Linked DNA regions of Homo sapiens: region 1 is linked to region 2. The links are contacts of gene promoters, found by promoter capture Hi-C in blood cells and fetal thymus (Javierre and others, 2016). All regions are on one chromosome and are shown on one strand. Each heading gives the region's core, a stretch centred on a gene start or on the middle of the fragment in contact. The rest is flanking DNA. Distances are from core to core; before and after follow the strand shown.

Region 1 (6,524 bases), core at 1,489-3,988, 150 kb after region 2:
AGCAAGCACTGCTCAAGGGTTCCAGGAGTTGCAAGCAGCCCTCATTCTCTTTGGTTCACTTTCAATTGCCTTTTAATGGGAGAGAGATAAAGTGAAATTACAGCCTTGGGTAGCTGCTTACTTGGGAGGCTGGGAACAGCCCGGCCCTGTGCATCACATACTAAAGCTGCATTTACAGTCCCAAGAGCAAAGGGACAGATCACAAATCAGATCATTTATTGCTGCTGCTAGCTCAGCGAGGATAACATTCCCAAGGGGAGAGAGGTGGAGGCTCTGGCCGTGAGTGTAACAGTTTGGTCCCAGGGCTCCTGAGGATCATACTGGGCAATGCTAGCGATATTGGCTGAGGAGAGCAGTAAACGATGACCCACAGAAGCTTGCTCTCTCTTCTCTCTCTGTGTTGTATCTCTCTATATTTTGCTCATCCATCAATCTATGTGTGAGATGGGGAGGCTCTCTGACCAATAGTCTTCAAAAATAAAATGCAATTTGCCAAACAAACAAAAATGACTGAAGTATATGAAAAGGCCCCAGGCTTCCTGCAGTATGTGTGACCTTCTGGGCTCTCCTAGTTTTCTTGTGGGGGAAGATATCTTAGGGGAAGCAAAACTGTTCTCCTCCAAGCTCCAAGGGACCTATTGCAGGAGGTTCCTTGCTTTATTTCCTGGTAGGATCTGGCCATTGAGTCACTGAGAGACCGTGGAGTCTTCATAGACCAAGACCATTCTCTTCATCAAAGTCTCCCTATTCCTGTTGGTGAGCATGGGGCTTGGGACAACACATAGTGCATTCCAGTAGAAAGTATTTACTGAGTAATTTTTGTGAGTCATTATTGAACAAGTGGTGTATTCAGAATTCAGAAAATGTTGTAGGTCCCTTCACTGTCCCCCTGTATGTTCTGTATGTTATACTTGTCTTATGTATGATATCTACATAGGGTGAAGACCCATCAGAGGTTATAATTGTTATTTTCCAACATCCAGCAGATTTTTTAAAACTCAGGAGGGGAACTGGGCTGGGCACCATGGCTCACGCCTGTAATCCCAGCACTTTGGGAGGCTGAAGCCAGTGGATCACTTGAGCTCAGGAGTTCAAGATCAGCCTGGGCAACATGGTGAAACCCACATCTCTACAAAAAATACAAAAATTATCCCGGTGTGGTGGCATGCACCTCTAGTCCCAGCTACTTAGGAGGCTGAGGTGGAAGGATCATTTGATCCTGGGAGGTTGAGGCTGCAGTGAGCCATGATGGTGCCACTGCATTCAAGCGTGGGTGACAGAGCGAGACCGTGTCTCAAAACAAGCAAACAAACAAACAAACAAACAAATAAACCTCAGGAGGAGAACAATCTGTTATACTTACTCAGATTGTTACCATTTCTGTTGCTTCTTCATTCCTGATTCTTCAAGTTTCCTTCTTTTTGAAGAACTTCCTTTAGTACTTCTTGAAGTACATGTTTGCTGGCAATAAATTCTCTTAGTTTTCCTTCATCTGAAAACATCTTTATTTTGCCTTTATTCTGGAAGTGTATTTTCTCTGGATAAATCCTGGTTTGAACATCCTTTCCTTTCAGCACTTCAAAGGTGGTGTGCCATTTCCTTCTGACCTCCATATTTTCTGATGAGAAATCTGTAGTCATTCAGATCATTGTTCTCCTACAGGTTAAATAGATTGCATTTCCCTGTCAGTTTCAAGATTATTATTATTAGTTACTTTAATTTTCACCATTTTGATTACAAAATAGTGAAATATTTGATTACAATTTGAATACAAAATAGTCTGGGTGTGGATTTCTTTGGGTTTATCACCTTTGGAGTTTGCTGAACTTCTTAATTTGCAGGCTTATATCTTTTGTGAAATTTGGGAAGTTTTTGGCCATCATTTCATTACATATTTTTTCAGCCCTGCACTCTTTCTCCTCTATTTCTGAAACTCCAATGACTAGAAAGGAGGCATCTCCTCCTTCAGAATTTTGGCTCTTGTGGGAACCTATTTCTGCCACTGATTATTGCTTGGGGGCTGAGAGAATGGAAAAAAGAAAAATGTGGGGATTTCTGCACTCTCTCAGAGTCCTAGGAGTTTGCTTTCTCACTCCCCAAGCCAGACCAGAGGCCTCCCCACTGATTTCTCTGTCTGAGTCCTGATGCCCATGTCCAGGTCTCAGGCTGTGCTGGTATCAGGCTCGGGGGTCCAGAAGGAGAAGAATGGCGAGCCTGCTGCCCACTCAGTGGCACTTCACATTCTGGTCTTCTTCTGGATTTGCCTGCCACTGTCTACTTTCAGAGCTCACAAATAGTGCTCCATGCAATTTTGCCCAGCTTTTATTGTTACACTCACTGGGAGAGACAGGGTAGAGCCCTGCCTTACCCAGGGTTCTTGCCTGGTTCACTTTTAATACAAAACCTATCCATGCCCAATGTAAAGTCAAGCTCAAATGACACAGAAGTAAGTAGAGTAACAGGAAAAAAAGAGGTCATTTTTTGCCATCTCGCCCCCTAAGGATAGGGCCTGTTGATGCTTTTGTATGATTTTCCAGACTTTTCTCTCATGCACATGCTGGCATCCTTGCAGGGAGCAGTCTGGCCTCTGATGGTCAGGGGTGCAGGCTGTAAACACCAGAACGGCAGGTTCCTGAATCAGTGCCTATAACTCTGGCAAACAACCTAACTTCACCAAGTCCAAATTCCCACTGATGTAAAGTGGGAATCATAATGCCTGCCCCTCAAGGAAGTTCTGAGGGTAAGAGGAGCAAAGGCACATTGTAGTTGCCTAATGAATGTCTCCATGTCATCTGATCTATACATAGAGAGAGCACATGCTCATTTCTGGGTATGGAGACAGACATCGCTTGCTGCGATAAAACCACAGACGGTTGCTCTTCTCTCCCTCTGCTTTGTCTTGGCCATCTCTCCACATTAGTAGATAAGATTGTCTTACTCTCTGGGACGGCTCCAGGTGACATTGTTGCATGGACATGAAGTCGCTTATTTTCTCTGTTGCCTTGGAAACCCCATTTCCTGAGAGTCTTGCCCTCTGTTCTCCCTCTGACAACAGAGGGGCAACCCTTCATCCTCTGTGTGTCCCCACGCTTTTCGATAAGCAGGGGTCATTGGGAAGAAGCCACAGGAGAGTGGGGCCAACAACCCCCGAGAGAGCTTGCCATTCTCTGTTTTAATTCATTGAGGTTCTTGGCTGATGCTGTCTGGATTGGAGGGAAGGGATTCATGTAAGTGTACATTAAGGATTCTAAGATGTGTGTGTTACATAAACTGCAGGGCAGGTATTGATTGGTTTGCTTCCAAGAGTGTGGGGCATCATCTTTTTCCTGGACCAGAAATGACTCCCTGTGGGGGGTTCTTGTTCATTCCAGGAGAAGGGTTGAGGTCCTTGATGGCTTTTCTGGGGTGCTTACCAGGGGTGCCCTGGTGAGTGAGGGGCACTTACCACCAGGAGGTGTTCAGAGACTTGGCATTAAGTAACCATCCACACAGTAAACGTTCGTTCTTCCTCTTCAGTTCCATTCAGTCCTGAGAGCCTCAGAGAGTGTCTCAGACTGGGGCTCAGCCGCCTCTGTGGCTCTTGCCATTTTCTCTTTCTTAACAGGGAGAATGGACCAGAGGCCCAGAGGTGTTGACAGCTGCAGTACCTCAGCAGAATATAATAATATTCATTGATTTTCATGGTATTCCTTTTTTTGATTGTTTTCTATTTGTGGCAAGTTTCATTTTTAAGTGTATTTATTTTCATTTGAAAGCTGAGATAATTTGAAGAAAAATATGAAGTAAACAATGTGGTCCTGGTGATATGCGTGTAGGGTATGATTCATATAGGGGTTCCCTAGACGATTTAAGTTTGGCAAACATTGAACTAACATGTGAATGACTGATAGCAGGGCTTTCCCTGAGAACAAGCTCACAAGGTAGATGGGAAGACTATGGGCAAATGGGCGCAAGAATGCTGTCCATAGATGGGGGGAAATCTCCATCAGTTTTATGCATTTTCTGGGAGTTGACCCTTTCTGCAGACTATCTGCTAAGGTGGGAGAAGAGGAAGGACACAAGCCAGGGCAGGGGGTGGACTGGACAGGTGATGGTGGCAGACAGACTGCTGGCTTTGCTGTCTTGTGGGAAACAGACTGGATAGGAAGAGGCTCACACTCTCCCGAGGGAGACAAAGTCTTTCGTAGCAGGTATCCGTGATTCTATTCTGTCTGGGACGCATTCCCCAATTTCTGGAGGGTGATCCTCTATTTTATCTCAGGGGAATATCCCTTCTCCACTCTTAGTCCATGTGGTGCACACATCACCCAGCTCAGGCAAGCTCACATATTCTAAACCCTTGGCCTCTGTGATTGGTGTAAGGCTGGGCTCCTTGCCCAACAGGGTCCCATGAGGATAAAGTCAGCAATGCTGAATGGCTTTCTGCCAGGGTTGCTAAGCTAGTGGGGGCAGGTGAGGAGCTCTCTGTGAACAGAAGGTCCTGAGATTGAAGCCACCACCTAGGAAGGAGGAACTGACAGAAGGAGAAAGGTCGAGTCCCAGGCATCTCCTTGGAGATTCTGGGCACAACTGGGACAAGAGCCCTCGTTTGCGTGAGCCAGTGAGTCCCTTGCATTCCCATCTTATTCTCTGAAACTGATTTGAGTTGAGTTTTTGTTATGAGCCACTCCAAGTCACATGTACCTACTGACCTACGTGGAGACTCTCTCGTGCTCTGCATGGCTGTAGCCATAGCTCCGCAGTCAGAGAAACAGGCACTGGAGTTGGGACCTGGACTCCCATTGCAGCTCAGCCATGTATGGGCCACAGGACCTTGAGCAAATCATTTCTCCGGTTGATGGGAGGGTGAAGTGAGGGAATCCATGCTAAGCTCCTAGTAAAATGCCGGCATAGACGCTCCGGGTGGATGTGAGCTGCTGCTGATAATGATGGTGATTAAAATAAAACCTCAATTATAATGAAATGTAATTCCCATGCGAATGCTGTTGCTCCCTTCCCCACGGTGAAGTGTGTGTGTGTGTGTGTGTGTGTGTGTGTGTGCGTGCCCACGTGTGCGTGTGGGGGAGGGGGCTTGGAATTGTGGCATCTACAATGCCAGGAGAAGCTTTCATAAGCCTAAGGCTGTAGTCCTTGTTCAGGGGTGGAAAGATGCCTCCAGTCGGTCCAATCTGAGTGACACCCACGTCTTTGGTAAGCAGCTGGGAAAGAAAAGCTCTGTCTCCTTCCAGATGGTGTGCTGCATTCCCATGGTTTTGGATCCTGCAACCACTCTTGTTCCACGCAGAGGCCAGCCTGTGGGTTAGAGAGATGCACAGAGAGGGACAAAGCCCGGAACAATCACAGAGAATCAAAGCACTCTGGTTATACCTTGCCTTCCCTAAGCTGCTGATGAATTAGCAGATCAAATTCCAGAAATAATTCAACCTTCCACTGTTTTTTTTTTTTCACGCACGTGTCCCTTTGCCAGGCAGCCTTGCTGTAGTGCCTCTGTTTAATATTCCATTTGTAAGATGGGCAGCTCCAAGTCTATGCTCACTCAGCTGCTCATCAAGAATAACAAGGTAAATGACAAAGGAGGTAAGAATGTCCTCGTCAAATGTCCTATGCTGTCACCTGCCAGAAAGCCCTCGGCAGTCAGTGTCCAAGATGGCTCCCCACGCAGGAATCTCTCTGAAGTGCTCTGTGATCTCCACAACTAAAACATAATTTCTGGCTCCAGAGAGCTCTGGGGCTCTGTTCCCTTGTTCAGCCCGTGCTCCTGGTCATCGTCAGCCCCAGGACTGAGGCTTGGACTGGCTCAGGGGCTGCTGTCTGTGAAAATCAGATTGATGCATCTGATTACATGGCCTGTTAACATCTGCAAAAAATAAGATAAAATAAGAATTATTTACCTGTCACAGCTTTGACACACCATCACAAACTGGAGCTGACACCTCTTCTGTTCACCTTGGAGAGGTGCAGAGTGAAGAGCAGACCGTGACACACTTAATAGATTGCTGGGCATTTACGGAGCTGCTTGTTACCCAGCTCAAGAGCCATGTCCAACTGCTACAGCGTTCATCAAAGACAAGAAGCCACAAGGAGCAAGTCAGTACTGCAATTCATTAAGGCAACTTGACCTCTGGGGAGAGGAGAAGAAAAAGGAACTAGCAGCATTGATTGCCTATGTTTCCTGAAGTGTGGTGTCATGGCATAAAATGACATTGAATCACAGGGTGAGAAAACCACGCATTTCAGCTCTTGCTTGGCCTTTGAAGACGACATAGGAAGTCTCTGCTGGTGCTAGTTGTCTTGAGCTTCTCTTTGACACCCTTTCCTAATGCAAACAGAGTGGGCCTCAGCATGGGAGCTTCTGCAGGTGACTCTGCTAAAAGGTTACTAACACTGTATAGTGGTGTTCCATCCATTTAAAAAATATACTTTAATTTTTAGAGTAGTTTTAGGTACACAGTAAAATTAGGTGGGAAGTGCAAAGATTTCTCATTTACCTCCTGCCCCCACCTACACACAACCTCCTCCATTAT
Region 2 (6,271 bases), core at 2,387-4,886:
ACAATGACAAAATTTATTTTTGCCAAGGCTCTACGTTTATCAGTGTTGTAGAAAGGATAAGACTTGCATGTGAAATGATTTAGACAAGAAGTTTCTAAAGCTTGGTCTTCTGTAATTAGGCCACAAGAAAAACATACTGAAGCATAATAGAATGGCTCACAACTGTTTTTGCACATATACTTTAATACTTAGGCTTGGGTAAAATCATTTTAAATAACATATTAAAATATGTTTGGGGGGACAACCCAGCAATTGCACAGCCCACTAGAAAATTTTAACATCTAAGTAATATAACTGTTTTAGGGTCTGAAAGTTCTCCTTCAGTTGTTCCACAGCCTCTTTATCAACTAGGCAAATATATTTAAGCTTTTAAATTTCATAATGTTGGTATTTTTTAAAAGGCACGGGAGGTTCACTTAATATTAAATATATAACATTCACTTTCATAACCAAAACCTTTTTGGCAAGTGACTTTCACATAGATTATGAGATTCTCTACATGCCTTAAAATAAATCTGGCAGCTCTTAACTCATATCTAAATTCTCTGGACAACTGTCTTGCTCTCTGTTTTGGGGCCAGGGGCGTAGCAGTGAAGGCCCTAACAGGCTTGCTGACCTAATTGGACAGTTTGTTAAATAGCAGGAAATGTAACAAGGCTTCTCTCTCTCTTGCATGTTAATGTAGTGAACAGTGCTAATAGCCAGAGATTGTGCAATTTAGTCACAATATTTCAAGCCAAAATTCAGTGTTCTTATATTAAAAGATACCGAAGAAAGCTATCCTTGTTCTTTGAATTATAAAAGCACAGAGGTTGCAATGATCAGAACCAAACTGGTTAAAAGCCGAAATGCATCCTTTCAGTATTGATTTGACAGATGCCAACAAGCATTCAAAAATTTAGAGTTAATTTCTTGGTGACAGGTAGCATAAAATTGATCAGACTGGTTTCAGCTGTATCATAAGCTTCACAAATTGGAGATCTTGTCCTTCCTGGCTGTTTTTTTTTTTTTCCCACACCTTAATTCTAGCACCTGTTGTCAGACCACTGTTCAGCACCAAAAGAACTCCTCAGCCTGGAGTTCTTTGGAGTTTTAAGTGATTGCCTAACTCAGCAGGGGACAGTGGTCTTGACTTCTTGGTTGACGGTTTAAAAACATAAAAGAATTTTATATTTTAAAACTGACAAACTAGAAAATGTTAGAAACTCTATCTGAAGGCAGAAAGTATAAAGTTGGTGGGTACCTGATAAAACATGATGTATGTAAATACAGTTCAAAACAATTTAAAAGTATAAATATTTGTCAATTATTTTTCCTCCAGTGCTCTGGCTATTGCTGAAAACACCTTCTAGTTCCACCTTGTAACTGGACTCCCAAAAGATGAATGCTGACATCTTCTGATGCTTAACAAGAAATAAAAATAGTCACCTTAATCATCAAAAAGGTAATTGCAAAGGGCACTGTTGCCTGAAATTCTCTAGTCACCTGAAAACTGAAATAACTGAGGCAAGACTTCTTAAAATGCTTAGTTTCAAACTTAAACAGAATGGCCTGATAATGATCAAACATGTACAGAGAAATACATGAAATCAGAATTGTGAATGCAGAGAAATAACTGTTTTGCTAGTTTAAAAGTCTGAAGCTTTTCCCTCCTCCCCAGCTGTTAATGTAGGAGACACACAGCCTAACCAGGACAGTCTCAATGCCCAGGAATGGTTGTGTGATGACTGATAAAGCAGAAATTTCTTGCCTATTAATAGTTTCCCACTGTTAGAAGGCTACAGCCGTTGGCAATCAGATGTGGGCTCAGGTTTTCCTTATCCTGGGGCAGGAATGCCTGGAGGGACCACGATGTGGGTCACACTGTACATTCTGTTTACTGTGGGCACAAACACAGAACTTTTTTTTTTTAGCTTATTAAATCGAGAATATTCCTGAGGAGGCATCCGCTATGGGCTAAAGGTCCCAACATCACAATAATAAATAACAGCTATGTTTACAGAGACACATTCAGGACACATGCAAAAGCTTTTCCTAGCAGGAGGACTTGGGCCTTTGCAAAACAAGCTGCTTGGGCCTCCCCAGAGGGCCCACCCTCCCATGCACCTACCCCACCACCCTGCCCCAACTCATTACACAACTCGGCCTTCTGGCCACCTGAGGCTACTTTTTAGACCAAGTGACTCAGACGTTTCAAGTAGAAGACAGGATGGGCCACTGCCAGGGGACCTTGCAGCAGAAAATTAGGTCAGAGGACTTGGAGGGTGGTGAAGAACAACCAGATAGATGTGAGAGCCCAGCAGGGAAATGACAGGAGGCGCAGCTTAGGTGTGGAGGCTCCAGGTGGCCGGTCCCCGCGCGGCTCAGATGAAGTGGATCCAGCTCTCTTCGCACTCCCCGCGAGGCATGTGCAGCGCGTGGTTGCGACATGTGAGGCTGTAGTCTCGGTGGTCGTTGTTGTCCCAGTACTCGGCACCCGCCACTTGGTAGCGCACCGCGAAGTGCACGCGGGAGCCGAGCTCCAGCAGGAAGGGCGGTACTGGAAAGCCGAAGGTGAAAACGTCCTCCGTGCCCTCGGGGCCTGCGGGCCCGCGCCACCGCGCCACCGCCTCGTGGGTACTGCGCCAGCCCGAGAAAGTGTAGCGCACAGCCACCTGCTTCTCGAAGGCCACGTTGCACACGCGCACCGTACCGCTGATGCCAAGGTCCGAGCAAGTGACACGCTCCAGGCACACGAGCTGCCGCTGCAGGCGCTCGCCAAAGTCGGCGGCCTCGACGGGCGGCGGGAAATCGGGCACCAGGCAATGCAGGGTGAACTCCAGGTCCTGGCTGCTGCAGCACAGGTCCGAGTTGATTGCGAGCCGCGACAGCACGTGCAGCGGCACGGACGGGTCGTCTCCCGCGTTGAACACCTTGACCTGTGCCAGCTCCAAGCCCAGGGCGTCGGCGAAGCGCACGCGGAGCTTCTGGCTGCAGCCCGGCCGACACGCAGCGCCCGGCGCGCCCGCGGCCTTCTGGCGGCGCTCGGGGGAGCTGGGCAGTGAGCGCGCCCGCCGCAGGATGATGGGCCGCAGGCGGGGGTCGCAGCCCGACGGCGCTGGCGTTGGCGGCGGCGCGCGGCCCGGGCTCCCAGGGGGCCTACAGGCCCGCGGCTCCAGGGCCACGCCGCCGTCCAGGTCCGACAGGCAGCTGAGGCTCCGGGGGCCGAGCTTCCGGGATCCCAGGGCGCTAGGCAGGACCGCGGAGCTCGGGCCTCTGGACATGGCCCCGCCGGCCGTCGGAAGATGAGGCAGGGATGAGAGACGACCTCCCGACCCCGCGACAGCTCCCTCCGTGCTCAGAAGCCGCAGAGAGTCCACCGTATCTGCAACCTGCGGGGGACCTCTCGGGCCCGGTGCGCCCTACCCTTGGTTCGCCACCTTGCTCCTCGAGTCCTTGTCCAGGTCCTCCGCTTCTTGCGGTTAAAGAAATTGTAAGAGTGGGGAGTTTTTCTCTAGTGGAAGCTTTCAGAGGCCTCCCGGGAGCGCAGGGTAGCGCCTCTTTTTTCTTCTTGCTTCCTTGGAGGTTCTTACAAGAAGGCTGCGTTCCGGGAGCGGCCCCTCCCACTTTCCCGGTCCGCGGCGTTACTTACAAGGCTGCAACTTGACCGGGTGCAACTTCCTAGCGAGCCTCCGCCCCGCCCCTCGTGACGCCGCCTGCAGGCGGGCCCCCGCCGGCCTCAGCTCAGCCAGGGAGCTCAGCGGAGCTGCGCGCCTCCGCCTCCAGCTCCCCTGCCGCAGCGCGCCGCAGCCGGGCGTCCCCGCGCGGGCGCCGGAGAGGAAGGAAGGCTGGCAGCCTCGTCACGTGTCCGCTGCAGTCGCGAAACAGGTCTGATCAATTTCTGTTTACGTCTGCCTGGATTGCGCGCCTATCGATCATAGACTTTGTCTGCACAAACGGAGGACAAGGAAAATGCATGCTGCGTGTCCTTAGATTTCTGGGTTGTGGATGGGGGGAGCGGTGGTGCAAAAACCGGCCTTGCCAGGAGCTGGTCTCAGGCTAATTTTAAACATCGAGGCCAGCCCACACTTTGGACAGGTTCACTGCAACCTGGACCCTTGGTCAGACCGAGGGAGCCTCACTGCGTAGAGGAGCAGCGTCATGTCCACATCACCCAGAATGCTTTGCCGCACCGAATGGCCAGCAGATTCCCTTGAGGGTGGGGAGGGGAGGTGCTGCTGTTGTCTTCCTGGACTCCGCGCCAGAGAGGAAGACAGGGGAACAAGAGTTATTACCCGCTGATGACTTCTGCAGCTGCCCTTAATCAGCCTCTGGCGCTTGGGGAGCATATTTGTAGCCAGAATCTCCGACTTTTAGCTTTGTTTCCAAGCAAGCCAGAAACACCAGCAAGGCCTGGAGCTTGTTTTCTGCCTATTTAGAACCCTGCAGGCATTCGTGTCTCTCACCCGGTAGCTTTGAGCACAAAACCCCACAGCCTTTGGTGTAAAGCATACCAGGTGAAATGAAGTAGAAAAGATGCAAGTGCACTTTCCAGAGAGCAGTTTGGGGCCAGCCATTCCATTAAGAAGGTTCCTTTTTATTGTCCAGAGGGACAAAGCAGAAAGAAAACCAGACTAATGAAAGGGGGTTGATTCAAGAACATTCGTTGCATCTAAAATGAGTCAAGGCTGTTGATTGTGGTATAATTCATGAAATGTGAGAGAATGATTTTATTTATCATTGGATGTAAGCTAACTAAAAAGGCTTACATGATTAATGTGGGAAAAATACAGGAAAGTTTCAGGAAGAAAATAAAAATCTTCTATAATCATCTCTTTTATTTTACAGAGACAGGTGATACGGGAAAGAGAAGTATCCAATTTCCATTCAGTGCACTTTTAATAGGCCACTCAAAATGAGAGGGGAATAACAGCAATATGTGGTATAGGTCAACAATGCTTCATAAAGAGATGATATATAATATGTAATATGTATGAATATATGGAAAGTCTTATAATGGATTGATGTGATAGAGAAGGCCGAAAAATTGAATGGGAACGTTCCTCCTAGAGTTTAAGCTCCTTCTGAACAGGGACGTGCATAATCATTGCCATTTTTCTGGGTACTCCTGTAATTATTTGTTGCATGAATGAATGATTGGGCAATGCAATGATTGAACGCTGTAATAAGACCTGACCTTATTTAGCCTTCCAGATTTCTTCAACATATTATTTCCAAGGAAGATTATACCTGTGTGTGAACAGGGAGAGAGAGAGAGAGATGGAATCCATTCACAGTATTTATAGTAGTGTGATCCTGTGATCCTGTCTCTAATATCTACTGTAATAAGCAGAAAAGACAAAGCTGTAAGCATAAGACAATGTCTCCCTTCCCCAGTATTTCATAACCTAGAGTGCAAACCACTATATGATCACAGCCTTAATATTTCAATATTATACAAGTATTAAAAAACAAGTGAAAAACCAACCCGATACTGGTGGTAGGACCATTTGCAATCAATAGTTACTGACAGTATTCTGTTGCTTCTAGTTCCGGTGGTGAGGAGACCTTTCCAAATATAAGAGGAATAAAGAAGTCACCTCCCCAGCTGTCATCATCTTCCAGCAGATTGAGCAAGAATATTTTGAGCACTACAGGAAAGGTAATGTAAACTTAGAAGAAAAATCTGACTTAGATTTATTCTGGGATTTTTGTTTGTTTGCTTGCTTGTTTCTTGTGTACATGTTCACAGTGTTTATTACTGCATCCCTGTTTTTAGACAGTCCATCAAACCCGAGATGATGATCAGCCACGTGATTTTTTCAAGAAGAGGAATAGGGTGAATGAATCTCATCAGAAAAGCAGGTAAATAGTTTTAGTATAATTGCTTTATCTTGCAAAAGACTCATTATCTCTGTTGTCCAGATTGAATATGTGGAGTGGGGAAAAAAGTATGTCTATAGATAAGAAATATACATTTATAATTTTTTTCTAGCAGAAATGAATAGAAAAGTGGTTTAAGCATAATAGTGGATAAGGATTCCAACGGTCATAATTCTGGCAGTTGTTAGCAGAATTATAATTTTGAGTAAGTCCTTTAATCACTTTTCTATGTTAGTTTCCTTTTATATAAAAGGATAGTGACAATAATTAATTTTTATGGATGCATACTGACAGGCAGGAACAAAATGTTTTAACAGTGTTATGAATTCTGAATAATGGAGATTCCTTCATTTCTTCATTTATTCAACATTTATTGAGCACACGTTGTACTATTGGCAATGATTTAATG

Evidence for each region. The method cuts DNA at HindIII sites, captures the fragments that hold promoters and counts their contacts. A CHiCAGO score of 5 or more calls a contact.
Region 1: a contact is called between a fragment that was not itself captured here and the fragment with the promoter of PPP1R3D in region 2, in 1 of 17 cell types (neutrophils). The highest score is 6.4, in neutrophils.

Annotation. Positions count from the first base shown.
Region 1 is chr20:60,091,307-60,097,830 of GRCh38, forward strand. The region is part of intron 2 of LOC729296 (a long non-coding RNA gene); the gene reads left to right. Among named protein-coding and RNA genes, the nearest start is that of LINC02910, 39 kb to the left of the region's middle. The HindIII fragment of the contact is 4,728 bases long and covers 375-5,102 here.
Region 2 is chr20:59,936,669-59,942,939 of GRCh38, forward strand. It overlaps PPP1R3D (protein phosphatase 1 regulatory subunit 3D), which reads right to left and starts at 3,637. Exons shown (of 1, transcript NM_006242.4): 1 at 1-3,637. The coding sequence starts at 3,263. The coding sequence ends at 2,364. It overlaps FAM217B (family with sequence similarity 217 member B), which reads left to right and starts at 3,721. Exons shown (of 4, transcript NM_022106.3): 1 at 3,721-3,867; 2 at 5,530-5,641; 3 at 5,759-5,844. RefSeq lists silencers at 3,099-3,228, 3,579-3,958 and an enhancer at 3,526-3,820. The HindIII fragment of the contact is 3,202 bases long and covers 3,502-6,271 here.